Linked DNA regions of Homo sapiens: regions 2 and 3 are each linked to region 1. The links are contacts of gene promoters, found by promoter capture Hi-C in blood cells and fetal thymus (Javierre and others, 2016). All regions are on one chromosome and are shown on one strand. The core of a region is centred on a gene start or on the middle of the fragment in contact, and the rest is flanking DNA. Distances in the headings are between cores, read along the strand shown. Region 1 holds the start of CUL2 (cullin 2). Region 2 overlaps ZNF25-DT (ZNF25 divergent transcript). Region 3 overlaps ZNF33A (zinc finger protein 33A).

Region 1 (4,350 bases), core at 1,795-4,294:
TCAATTGTTCTTTCAAGTAAAAATGGCCTTCCATTGTAATGGCCAGATGGGTTCTTCTTGGCTACTGCACAGACAAAATTCACCGAGACCAAGGTATTGCAGTAGAGAAAGTGTTTAATTGACCCAAGGCCAGTCACATAGGAGAACTGGAGTTATCACTCAAATCAGTCTCCCCCTGGGTTGGAGGTTGGGGTTTTTATGGACAATTTGGTGAGCAGGGGACTAGAGAATGGGTTCTGCTGATGGGTTGGGGATGGAATCATAGGGGTGTGGAAAACAGTCCTTGAGTGCTGAGCCTGCCTCTGGGTGGGGCCATAGGACCAGTTCTGAGTCATGAGTCACGAGTCCAGGTGGGGTCAGTCTGAAAAATATCTCAAAAAGCAATCTAAAGTTGTACAATACTGATGTTATTTATAGGAGCAACTGGGGAAGTCACAAATCTTGTGACCTCTGGCCACATGACCCCTGAGCAGTAAGGGAGTATATTAATAGAAATATGCCTACACTTTAGCAAAGTTCACACCCCTCCCATAATCCTATTCTTGCTGCTTTTCATTAGTCTTCCAAAGGTGGTTTTTCATCCCTAAGCAAGAGCAGGGGTAGTTTTAGGGAGGAACTTAGCTTTCAAGTTAAACCATAAACTAACTTCCTCCCCAAATTAAGTTGGCCTATGCCCAGGAATGACCAGGAACACCTTGGAGGTCAGAAGCAAGATTAAATCAATGAGGTCAGATTCCTCTTACTATCATGTTTTGCAAAGGCAGTTTCACCATGAAAAATGCAGGTAGTTCAGCCTGTAAGTCAACCACACAAGTGCTTTTCTTCAAGACAGCCATCCCACTTTGGCATGCAGAAGTGCATGTGTACTTCCCATTTCTTCACACAGAGTATTAGAAAGACTTGTATTCAAGGGCCAAAATTTAATAAAATTAATGCTTCCGCTTCATCCAGGATATTCCTAAATCAATAGCCTTAAAAACTGGGAATGTATGGCAGTGAAGAATACAGCGATCCAATGACCACCCGGACAGGTTGGTGGCACTGTCTTGATCCCTGCTAAGGCATCAATAGTGTCCGTATTCCTTTGCACCATCAGTACAAAAACAAACTCAGTCAAAAAGACAGAGGAGGCCAGGCATGGTGGCTCACTCCTGTAATCCCAGAACTTTTGGGAGGCTGAGGTGGGCAGATCGCTTGAGCTCAGGAGTTCCAGAGGAGCCTGGGCAACATAGTGAGACCCCATGTCTACCAAAAATACAAAAATTAGCTGGGTGTGGTGGCGCACGCGCCTGTAGTCACAGCTGCTTCGGAAACTGAGATGGTACACTCGCTTGAGCCCAGGAGTTTGAGGCCGCAGTGAGCTATGATCAGGCCACTGCACTCCTGCACTCCAGCCTCAGCGACAGAGGGAGACCCTGTGTCAAAAACAAAAACAAAACAAAACAAAAAGCAGGGGGGGCCTGACACGGTGGCTCAGGCCTGTAATCCTAGCACTTTGGGAGGCTGAGGTGGGTGGATTGCCTGAGCTCAGGAGTTCAAGACCAGCCTGGGCAATGTGGTGACATGGTGAAACCCTGTCTCTACAAAATACAAAAAATTAGCCGGGTGTGGTGGCGGGCTTCTGTAATACCAGCTACTCGGGAAGCTGAGACAGGAGAATCACTTGAACCCGGGAGGTGCAGGTTGCAGTGAGCTGAGATTGTGCCGCCACTGCATTCCAGCCTGGGTGACAGAGCAAGACTCTGTATCCAAAAAAAAAAAGGACCAGACATATTGCATTGTTAACAAACTAGTTGTTAACCTTATGACCTCTGTAAAGGTCTCAGGGATTTCCAGAGGTCTGGGGACCACACTTTGAGAATCACTAGATTAAAAGGGGGAAAACATGGGAGGAAAAAAAGGTCACATAATGGAAACATACTGTTGGATTGAATTTCGTATATAAAAACCCTTTACTGAAATAAAGAGTAGAGACTTCAAGTACCAAGAGAAGCAGATTAGAAGAGGAGGAAGGCTCTAGGGACTGATCAGGTCTGGAGGCAGGGTTTTAAATGGGCCTTGAAGGGTTCGTGCAGTTTGGAAGGAAGGGATGGGAGGGAAAAGCTTGCTGAATCGTATAAATGAACAAGACCCTGATGGTGAGCTCTTGAGGATATGAAAGGCAAAAAGCACTAAGGCCGGGCTTTTGTTCCTCTGTGGCCCTGCATATATGAGGAGGTGATGAGTAATTCTATATTTTTATCAGCTTTACCGTTTAAAACTCCAAGGGAGGAAAACCCTTCAAACTGATAGGCTTGGGGCTTGGTGAAGGTGGGGTATTAGTGAAAAAGATGTGAAGTTTCTTTATCGAAAATACATGTATGTCCAAGAAATTCTCTGTAGATAAAAACTAACAAGAAAAAGAGTTTGTCAGAGAGGAAAAGTAGTTTTGCTAATTTATTTTTGATCATTTGCAAAGCCCATGGAAGTGTGTGGCAAGAGGATTGTGGTGTCTTAGGATATTCACATAGGTCTGAAACAAGGAAAACATACTTCTGTTGAAAGCACCATTCCAACATATTGTTATTAGCAGTCCCTGAACTAACGGGTAGTGGGTGGGTACTGTGTCCATCAGCTCAGCGAACCGCAATTGCCTCATTGACAGCAAGCCCAGCAAGGAATCACTTGGAATATTAATTTCCGTGGCCTTTCGCAATCACACGAAGCTTGGCTCCCTGCGCTTGCCGTAACGCGGCCTGTACCATTGCTTTCCGGGTGGCGGGGGGGATTTGGCAGCAGCGGAAGAAGGAGACCGGAGGGTGTGTGTTGGGCAAAGCCGGAGGCAGAGGAGGACGATTGTTTTACGGATCCCGTGATCGGCCCGTCCTTCTCCCCTTTCCCCCCCTCCCTACCGCCCCTGTCCCGCCGGGGAGCGGCGGCGGCCTTGGACTTTGCTGTCTTTCCTCGCGGAGACAGGTGAGTGTCGGCGCGCGGGCTCCCCGGGCTTCGCTCCCCACCCCCCGCGTCTCCGGGGCCGGTGGCGGCGGCCGGCCGGGGAGGCGGCCTCGGCGCACAGTAATGGCAGCGCTGTGAGCAGGGGAACGCGAGCTGACAGCCGCCGCCGCCGCCGCCTCCGCCCACCTTCCTCGCCGGGGCTTCGTCTTTCACTCCTTCGGGCTGCCTCCCCCTCCCCTTGTCCCCTGCCCCTTGCCCTGCTTCTGCAGAAGGTAACCCCGCTGAGGGTCGGGGAGCCGGGCTGCAGGCGCCGGGAAACTTCCCTTCCCGGTTAATGGGTGGCGGGGCTGGGGCGGAGGAGAGGAGTTGGGGGCGACGAGGTGTGGGGAGAGGGATGAAAGGGGGAGGCCCGGGAAGATGGTATCCTGTAAGTGACCTCGGCTCCCCAGAGCGCTGACCCGTAAGCCCTGCCACCCCCTGGACTGGATCCCGGGCCTCCCCAACCCGATCTTGGCCGCCTCTCCCGCGGCCCCATTTTCCTTCGAAGGAGGGAAGGTGAGAGTGCGTGTATTCTTCTACATATTTACGTGCTCACACGAATACACAACTCTGTGTGTTTGTGTGTGTGTGTGGGGGGGGGCATCTCATGCATCCTTACCCCGAGTGTTTTCACTTTTGTTTCCGCAGACTGCAAAGATTGATAGCTTTGGGGAGGAGTATCCTACGTGCATGCTAGACTTCTTGTCTCAACCCTTAGGGTCTGGTGAAATAAGATCCTCACACGCTTTCTAGCACTTGCTTACCCTCTAGAGAGTCTGGACCATTCCCTACCATTACGTGCATGCAAATAAAACATCTGTGAATTGCAGACTGTTATTAATGTTAAGTCCACATCTTTGCCCCATGGATTAATATTAACAGTTGAAGGCCAGTACCCTGGGCGTTTAAATTTTGAAGATAAGATGCAAAATATTAACGTTCGCTATAGATTGTGACTGTTCAACATAAACGTCTTTGAACTAGACCTGGCCAAGCCTACCTTCGTAGTAAAGTATCGGAAATAATCACTTTGATCTGATTGACAACTGACTACATAATAATCGCTTAAAAACATTCAAAACACTGTTGCCTACCCTTTAGAATCTTACATTCCTTTTCAAGACAGACACATGAACAAATGAGCTATACTTTGCTTCTTTTGCCCTTATACAGTATCTGGAAGATCCTTCCAAAAGAGTCGCGTGAGATAAGAGAAGTACACAGTTTTTTTGTTTTGAGATGGAGTTTTGCTCTTGTCACCCAGGCTGGAGTGCAGTGGTGCGATCTCGGCTCACTGCAACCTCCGCCTCCCGGGTTCAAGCAATTCTTCTGCCTTAGCCTTCCATGTAGCTGGGATTACTGGCATGCGCCACCATG
Region 2 (4,683 bases), core at 261-2,760, 2.9 Mb before region 1:
ATCATTGCACCTTGAAAAAGAATAGAATAACAGCGATTTTCAGGGAACAAGGGAAGACAACTATAAGGTCTGACTGCCTGCGGGGTTGGGCAAAATAGAGCCATATTTTTCTTCTTGCAGAGAGCCTATAAATGGAGGTGCAAGTAGGGAAGATATCGCTAAATTCTTTTCCTAGCAAGGATTAATACTCTGGGAAAGGAATGCATTCCTGTGGGGAGGTCTATAAACGGCTTCTTTGGGAGTGTCTGTCTTTTTTTTTTTTTTTTTTTTTTTTTTTGAGACGGAGTCTCACTCTGTCGCCCAGGTCGGACTGCGGACTGCAGTGGCGCAATCTCGGCTCACTGCAAGCTCCGCTTCCCGGGTTCACGCCATTCTCCTGCCTCAGCCTCCCGAGGGGAGTGTCTGTCTTACATGGTTGAGATAAGGACTGAAATATGCCCTGGTCTCCTGCAGTACCCTCAGGCTTACTAGGGTGGGGAAAAACCCTGCCCCACTAAATTTGAGGTCAGCCTGGTTCTCTGCTCTCAAACCCTGTTTTCTGTTGTTTAAGATGTTTATAAAGACAATACGTGCACCACTGAACATAGACCCTTATCAGTAATTCTGCTTTTGCCCTTTGCCTTGTGATCTTGTTTTTGCCCTTTGCTTTGTGATCTTTGCCTTTGCCCTTTGTCTTGTGATCTTTGTTAGACCCTTATTAGGAGTTTCTGATTTTTCCCTTAGAAGCATGTGATCTTTGTGACCTACTCCCTGTTCTTGCACCCCCTCCCCTTTTGAAATCCTTAATAAAACTTGCTGGCTTTAAGGCTCAGGTGGGCATCACGGTCCTACCGATGTGATGTCACCCCCAGAGGCCCAGCTGTAAAATTCCTCTCTTTGTACTCTTTCTCTTTATTTTTCTCAGCCGGCTGACACTTATGGAAAATAGAAAGAACCTATGTTGAAATATTGGGGGCAGGTTCCCCTGATATGCCCAGATAGTTTTTGTATCTATTGTAGAGATGGGGTTTCACTATGTTGGCCAGGCTGGTCTCAAACTCCTGACCTCAAGTGATCCACCCGCCTCGGCCTCCCAAAGTACTGGGATTACAGGCATGAGTCATCACACCCAGCCCAGAAACAGTTTTTGAATTGGATCTTGAATCAGAAAAACAATTATCTATAAAAGTCTTAATTGAAGGCTGGGCGTAGTGGCTCATGCCTGTAATCTCAGCACTTTAGGAGGATGAGATGGGGAGATCACGAGGTAAAGAGATCGAGATCATCCTGGATAACATGGTGAAAATCCATCTCTACTTAAAAAAAAAAATACAAAATTTACCCGGGCATGGTGGTGCATGCCTGTAGTCCCAGCTACTCAGGAGGCTGATGCAGGACAATCACTTGAACCTGAGAAGGGGAGATTGTAGTGAGCCGAGATTGTGCCACAGCACTGCAGCCTGGGTGACAGAGTAAGACTCCATCTCAAGAAAAAAAAAAAAAAGACTTAATTGAGACAATCAGTGAAATTTGAACATGGACTGTACATTATAGATTAGATATTATATCTTTGTTAAATTTTTCTGATTTTGAGCACTGTACCATGGTTATCTGAGAATTTTATCCTTGCTGATAGAAAATATACAGCTAAGAACTTAGGAGTAAAGTGGAATGATTCCTACAACTGACTCTCAAATGATTAAGAAAAATAAATACATAATATACACAAATAGCAAAAATTATGAAGCAAATGTGCCAAAATATTAATGATGGAATTATCTTGGTGAAGGATATATGATAATTCAATTTTTTTTTTTCTGAGATGGAGTTTCAGTCTGTCACCCAGGCTGGGGTACAATGGCATGATCTTGGCTCACTGTAACCTCCGCCTCCCAGGTTCAAGCAATTCTCCTGCCTCAGCCTCCTGAGTAGCTGAGCTTACAGGTGTGCACCACTACACCCAGCTAATTTTTATATTTTTAGTAGAGATGGGGTTTCACTATGTTCTCAAACTCCTGACATCGTGATCCATCTGCCTCAGCCTCTCAAAATGCTGGGATTACAGGCAGGAGCAACCATGCCTGGCCTATAGGAGAATTCTTTATCCTACTTTTGCAATTTATTTATAAGTTAAAGATTACTTCAGGCCAGGTGCAGTGGCTCACGTCTGTAATCCCAGCACTTTGGGAGGTGGAGGTGGACAGATCACCTGAAGTCAGGATTTCAAGACCAGCCTGCCAACATGGTGAAACCCCAACTCTACTAAAAATAGAAAAAAATAGCCGGGTATGGTGGCAAACACCTGTAATCCCAGCTACTTGGGAGGCTGATGCACAAGAATAGCTTGAACCTGGGAGATGGAAGTTGCAGTAAGCCGAGATTGCACCACTGCACTCCGGCCTGGGTGATAGAGTGAGACTCTATCTAAAAAAAAAATTAAAAATAAGATTACCTCAAAATAAATGAGTAAAAGAAATTGCAATAATAAATTGCAAAACTGGTCTTTATTGTTAGAAGTGAGGATGGGGGCTGGGTGCAGTGGCTCACGCCTGTAATCTCAGCATTTTCCAAGGCCGAGGTGGGTGGATCATCTGAGGTCAGGAGTTCCAGACCAGCCTGGCCAACATGGTGAAACCCTGTCTCTACTAAAAATGCAGAAAATTAGCCAAGCATGGTGGCACATGCCTGTAATCCCAGCTACTCAGGAGGCTGAAGCAGGAGAATCACTTGAACCAAGGAGGCAGAGGTTGCAGTGAGCTGAGATCGTGCCATTGCACTCCAGTCTGGGCAACAAGAGAGAAACTCCATCTCAAAAAAAAAAAAAAAAAACCAGAAATCAAGATGGGGCTACTTTTGAGAGGGAGAGAAATGACCAATAAAGAATGGGTCATTCAAGGAGACTTCAGGCACTGGTAATATTGTCTTTGAACTCCTTGGTGTTTACATGTTTGTGTTTACCTCTCTTCATCATTCACTTATCAATTATACAGTGATACACATGCCATTGCATACTTTTATATTTTTTATACTTCAATAAAAACATTTTTAAGTAAAATTAAACTATTCAGATATAACACCTTGAGGATTGCTTTCTTTCTGTGTCTTCTTTCCTGAATCCCTAGTGAAGTCCTCAGGTCAGGGTGATAGTCTCCTAGGTGGTTCTCTTCTTCATTTCAAAAGAACAGTTTTATTCCTTATGCTGTGGAGAAACCAAATGTAAAAATTCACCTTGTGTGAACCCTTCACCAGTGACTTCAAATTGCTACTTCTCTTGGAACTTACTAACTTCTAAAAATTAAGAGTGGACTTTCAGTAAATTTGAAATGAAACTTTTAACATATGGCACACCAAATATCCATGACACCAAATTCCAGGAGCCCCACAGGGATAGTTTATAGCCACCCTTAGGAGAGAGAGACCTCAAGACCAAATTAGAAAGAAAAGAAAAAAAGGTATATATATATGTCCACACTGTTTTGTTTTCAATGAAAATTTTAACATATACTAAATTCTCATGTATATTTGGATCTTCTGTGCTTTTTCGAAACTAGCATCAAACTTAAATTACTTTTTATTTCATTGATTTATTTTTTGAGACACAGACTCACTGTGTTGCCAGGCTGGATTTCAGTGGCACGATCTTGGCCCACTGTAACCTCTGCCTCCCAGGTTCAAGTGATTCTCCTGCCTCAGCCTCCCGAGTAGCTGGGACTGCAGGCATGCACCACCATGCCCAGCTAATTTTTGTATTTTTAGTAGAGACAGGGTTTCACCATGTTGGCCAGGATATTCTCGATCTCTTGACCTCGTGATCCTCCCACCTCAGCCTCCCAAAGTGCTGGGATTACAGGGGTGAGCTACCACGCCCAGCCTTAAATTACTTTTTAAATTTGCATTTTCAAAAAAAGTTCTGTCAATGAAAAAAGTCAACTCTGTAAAATATTTAAAGAGATTTATTCTGAGCCAAATGTGAGTGATCATGGACCTTGACACAGCCCTCTGGATGTCATGAGAACATGCGCCCAAGGTGGTTGGGGGTGCAGGTTGATTTTATACATTGTAGGAGGGCATGAGACATCAATCAAATACATTTAAGGAATACATTGGTTTGTTCCAGGAAGGCAGGACAACTTGAAGGGTGGGGGTGCTTCCAGGCTACAGGTAAATTTAACCATTTTCTAGTTGACAATTGGTTGAATTTTTGTCTAAGGAGCTGGGATCAATAGAAAGGAAATGTTCAGGTTAAGATAAAAGGTTGTGGAGACCAAAGTTCTTTTGAAGTCTCATAGTGGCTATCCTTGAAAACAAGAGATGACAGATGTTTCCTATTCAGACCCTTTAAAAGGTGCTAGACTCTCAGTCAATCTATTCAGAATTAGAAGGGCCTGGAAGGAAAAGGCCTAGCTATGTTAGTTAATAGAGATTATTTAGAGATGCAAATTTTCCCACAAAGGACGGCTTGCAGGGCCATTTCAAAATGTGACAAACATGTTTTTGGGGTAAAATGTTTTTATTTTCTTCCTTGTCTCATAATGTTATGCCAGAGTCTGGTTGGAAAGTAAGTCACATTTTATGGGGTTAAATAAAACCCATCTGATATGAATTTATGGTTTGTAGGGCATAACTCCTCAGACCCCTTAGATAGAAATTTGGATAAGATAAAAAAAATCAGAGTTTAGTCTTCAGTTCCTTGCTATTCCCTGA
Region 3 (4,976 bases), core at 2,074-4,573, 2.9 Mb before region 1:
TGTTAAATTTTGCATGTTCTCACTTATTTGTGAAAGCTAAAAATTAACATAACTGAACTCATGGAGGTGAGGTAGAAAGTAAAAGGACGGTTACCAGAGACTGGGAAAGGTAGTGGGGTGGGGTCGGGGGAAGGTGAGGATGGTTAAAGGGTAGAAAAAAACCTTTAGAAAGAATGAATAAGACCTAATATTTGCTAGCACAACAGGGTCACTATAGTCAAATTTAATTGTACATTTTGAAGTGACTAAAAGAGTATAACTGGATTGTTTATAACACAAAAGATAAATAATCACATTAGGGTAAATGTGATTATTACACATTGCATGCCTGTATCAAAACATCTGTACTTCAAAAATATATATACCTACTATGTACTCACAAAAATTAAAAATTTTAGAATTGTTTTATGTTTTTTCCACTCTATCAGTTTATATTTTAATTAGTATACTTTGATCATTTACATTTAAGGTAAATATTGCTCTGTTAGGCTGCTATTTGTTTTGTTTTCTGTTTTCCATTCATCTTTTAGATTCCATCTTGGTTTATTTATAGTGTTTCTAAGTGTATCACATTTTATAGTATTCTCAGTAGTTGTTCTAGGTATAAAAATGTACATATGTAACTTATCAGTCTATCAGACATTTTACCACTTGAAGTGAAATGCACCAAGTTTCATTCCACTTAGGCCCCTTTACTCTCCCCACTTTTAAAATATAATTGTCTTAAGTGTTCCCACTACATACAGAGCATTTTGCTCCAACCATCAAAAATGATTCTAGAAACTCATGAGAAAAATATATTTATCCCTATTTTTGCCAACCTCCAATCTTCTTTCTTGCCTGCATTCCAAGCCTTCTTGTGTTATTTCCATTCTATTTAGAGAACTTCTAGCCAATTTTTAAAGGTAGGTTTGCTAGCAACATTTTCTCTTAGCTTCCCTGTCTAATAATGCCTTTAGTTCCCCTTTATTCATGAAGATAGTTTCAAAAGATACAGATTTTTATTTGATAGTGCTTTCCTCTCAGTACTTGAGAAAACATACTACTTCCTTCCTGCTGCCGCAGTTTCAGAAGAGAAACCCACAGTCATTCTCTGTAGGGAATGTGTTGTTTCTCTCTGGCTACTTTGAAAATTTTATTATAAATCATGCTGCTATAAAGACACATGCACACGTATGTTTATAGCGGCACTATTCACAATAGCAAAGACTTGGAACCAACCCAAATGTCCAACAACAATAGACTGGATTAAGAAAATATGGCACATATATACCATGGAATACTATGCAGCCATAAAAAATGATGAGTTCATGTCCTTTGTAGGGACATGGATGAAACTGGAAACCATCATTCTCAGCAAACTATCGCAAAGCCAAAAAACCAAACACTGCATGTTCTCACTCACAGGTGAGAATTGAACAATGAGAACACATGGACACAGGAAGGGGAACATCACACACTGGGGACTGTTACGGGGTGGGGGGAGTGGGGAGGGATAGCATTAGGAGATATACCTAATGCTAAATGACGAGTTAATTGGTGCAGCACACCAACATGGCACATGTATACATATGTAACAAACCTGCACCTTGTACACATGTACCCTAAAACTTAAAGTATAATAATAATAAAATAAAATAAAATAAAATTATCACAAGCTCAAATTAAAAAAAAAAAGAAAATTTTTGTCTTTGGTTTTCAAAAATTTAATTACAGTGTGAGTTTGCCATGGACTTATTTGATGTTACTTCAGACTCGGGAATGTGTAGTTTTATATCTTTTCGCTAAATTTGAGAAGGTCCAGCCATTACTTCTTCAAATACTTTAAACACCTCTTTCCCCTCCTTCTGATGTTACAAATGTTAGTTCTTTTGTTATTGCCCCACTTTCCAAATACTGAGAGAACCAAACTACATCCCATTCCCTCCTGCCTTCCGGCTCTGTCTAAGCTACCACAATCACTCATAAGGAAAACTACCAAGGCCTTTAATGAGCTCTCTATGCCCTATGCCATGCCCAATATTTTCTCTACAGAGGTGAGAAAGATCTTATAGAAATATAAATCAGATGTTGCTCATCTGCTGAAAATCTACCACTAAATTAAAAATAAAATTAACTGAATAAGGCTTATGATGGGCTCACCTTTGGACTCTAGCTGTCTCCCTCACCTCACCTCCTGCCCTTCCTCCAATCAACCCCTCCCTTCAGCCACTGTGACTTTTTGGTTATTCCTGAAACCCACCAACCACATTCCTGCCCAAGGCTAGCAGCTGCTATTACCCCTGCTGAAAAGGGTCAGAATCCTCATGGCTCACACAGTCATTTCATTCAAATCTCTGCTCTAATGTTGACCTCATTAAGGTTTCCCCTGACTGTTCTTTAAAGTACCACATTCAGCCAATCTAACTTGCTTTAATTTCTTTCATAGTCTTTAAAACCACAGAACATTTAATATACATATACATATAGGTATACATAATATACTTAGAGGCATAATTTATTTTTTTATATTTATTTACTTATTTTTGAGACAAAGTCTCACTCTGTTGCTCAGGCTGGAGTGCAGTGGCACAGTCTCAGCTCACTGCAACCTCTGCCTCCTGGGTTCAAGTGATTCTCCTGCCTCAGCCTCCCAGTTAGCTGGGATTACAGGCACCTGCCACCACACCCAGCTAATTTAGTATTTTTAGTACAGACGGGGTTTCACCATGTTGGCCAGGCTGTTGTGGAACTCCTGACCTCAAGTGATCTGCCTGCCTCGACCTGTGCTGGGATTACAGGTGTGAGCTACCACACCCAGCCTAATGTTTTTCATCATTATATCCTCAGCACACAGCAAGTATGCAAACATTATTTGCTGAGTTTAAAAATGAGTGTATAAAAAATTCTGACAACAGAATAAACACAAAACAAGGGAGGCAAGGTAGGACACTGAAAGTGCTTGGAGAAAAATGATAACCAAGAAAAACAACAGTAAAGTTGAGGTGGGCAAAGACTGAACTATTGGCAGGTGTAAGAATAGTAAACATTCAAAAAACGATTCAAAAAGGAGGAATTTTTTGTGAGTAGTATCTGGAAGTTTGATTTAGGAATCAATATTCTCCATCACTTCCAGAGGTTAGGATCCCTATGGAGATGTTCTTGAAAAATCTTCCAAAGTTGCCAAACCCTGAATTAACTACTGGGAAACAACAAATCCCCTGATGTGAATCTGTGCAGTACATATTAACTCACCTGGAAAGCTTTGGCTTGGGAATTCTTCCTCCTGTTTCCATGGCTCTTCTCCTTGTTGCAGCCTGAAGATCACCTCTGGTTTGTGAACACAATACCCTGTTAACAGGAAATAATTTAGGATTTGGACCAAGCAGTCTAGACTTCAGGCCTTTGAAGCAGGAAGAAGCTTCTGGGGCTGCTTCGAGTTGCCAGTGGAACATTTTCACTGGAGAGGTGAACACAAGTATCTTCTGGTACTCAGAGGTGATCAATCAACACTGACTCCTGAAGCCTAACCTTAAATATCATTAAACTATACAGACTGCCCATACGCTTCATAATCAAAAGAATAAACAAATGCTATTTAGAATGATACAGTGAACAGACCTTACCCACTGAGACAAGGTTGCTGTAGTTCTCCAGCATCACATCTCTATACAGAGCCCTCTGACTAGGGTCCAGGTGCTGCCACTCCTCCTGGGTGAAGCCCACAGTCACATCTTTAAATGATACTGACTCCTGGGACTTCTGTTCTACCTGAAACATTCAGAATTAGGTGGCATGAAAAAAGAAGTATGGGCTAATCCTTACCATGATTATTATTCACAGAATATTGTTTTGTTTTATACTTTTAGGGAAAAAGAAATCATAACAGAAATATTCTGCCATTAATGCATTAAGATATTAATTCATGCAAAAGAAATTATCAAGTTCCTACAAAGTACCTGGAACTATCATCACTGCTGGAAATACTAAGATTAATAAAAATCTTCCTGTGTTCAAAGAACACACAGAGTGGTAAGAAAATATGTGTGGTAATATGTTACAAGTACTAAGGTGAAAGTACAAACACAGTAGACTAACATTAGGAGCAAAGTTGGCTCTGTTTTGAGCTTAACTGAGGAAGTACAGCTGTTGGTTGAATTATGAAAAACACTCTATTACGTTCTTCATAAGCATAGGGCCATGATACAAGCAAAGGTGAGGGCCTCCAACACACTGCAGACATCAACAAAATGGCAGACAGCACAGGAGATGGCCTGGTGCTGTCTTGAGAAAAAAAGCCAAGGAAATGGGTTATAGAGTAATTTTAGACCAATGGTCTCCAAAGTATTTGATCATTTACCATTTTCAAGAATATTACTGAGAACTACAGATTTATATTTACAAATCACAGAAATAAATTGTCAGTACATTCATTATGAATTCTAATTTAACTCTCATTTGGATTTAAAAATGTAGAAAAAGAGCCTGACATTTTCTTCATCGCAATACATATTCTGGGTTCTAATCCTTTAATTCAGAGACAATAATAAGGATGTGTAGAAAATGGAAAGATTTTGGAACCATTATATTTGAAACCTCTGTGGAGTACAGCGGAGAAGACATCCAATTGGATTGTTCTGGATATCCTCTAGGGCACATCTTTTAGGGATCACTGCTGTGAAAATGGGAGAGCCAAAGATGAGATATGAGCATATACTGAAATTACAGGACCAGGTTTCGTTTACAGAACCAATTCTACTGAGAACGACAAAGGACAAAACAACATTTACATAAACTACTGTAGAAGAAACCAGGATGCAAATAGGGCACGGATAATAGGAGGCAAGAACAACAAAATGTGGTCACCAATTCATTAAGAAAAAAAATGTTTCCTCTGGCTATCTCCATGCACAGCTGCCCAGATACTAGGGCCACAATGTAAACCAGGAAAGTTAGGGCTATATAGGTTGGACACAGTATTCTAGTAAGAAACATCC

What was found. Contacts are between HindIII fragments. The CHiCAGO score rates a contact against its expected background, and 5 or more counts as called.
Region 2: a fragment that was not itself captured here is called in contact with the fragment with the promoter of CUL2 in region 1 in 7 of 17 cell types (total B cells, naive CD4 T cells, naive CD8 T cells and 4 more); the score reaches 14.5 in total B cells.
Region 3: a fragment that was not itself captured here is called in contact with the fragment with the promoter of CUL2 in region 1 in 5 of 17 cell types (total CD8 T cells, total CD4 T cells, naive CD8 T cells and 2 more); the score reaches 16.4 in total CD8 T cells.

Annotation. Positions count from the first base shown.
Region 1 is chr10:35,089,035-35,093,384 of GRCh38, reverse strand. CUL2 (cullin 2) reads left to right here and starts at 3,044. Exons shown (of 21, transcript NM_003591.4): 1 at 3,044-3,206. RefSeq lists an enhancer at 2,624-2,763 and silencers at 2,682-2,870, 2,924-3,123, 3,144-3,273. The HindIII fragment of the contact is 6,346 bases long and covers 2,708-4,350 here.
Region 2 is chr10:37,978,784-37,983,466 of GRCh38, reverse strand. It overlaps ZNF25-DT (ZNF25 divergent transcript), which reads right to left. Exons shown (of 6, transcript XR_930830.4): 2 at 3,057-3,178. Among named protein-coding and RNA genes, the nearest start is that of ZNF25-DT, 4.4 kb to the right of the region's middle. The HindIII fragment of the contact is 7,521 bases long and covers 1-4,683 here.
Region 3 is chr10:38,015,645-38,020,620 of GRCh38, reverse strand. ZNF33A (zinc finger protein 33A) reads right to left here. Exons shown (of 5, transcript NM_006954.2): 3 at 3,606-3,750; 4 at 3,235-3,330. Among named protein-coding and RNA genes, the nearest start is that of ZNF33A, 7.5 kb to the right of the region's middle. The HindIII fragment of the contact is 158 bases long and covers 3,245-3,402 here.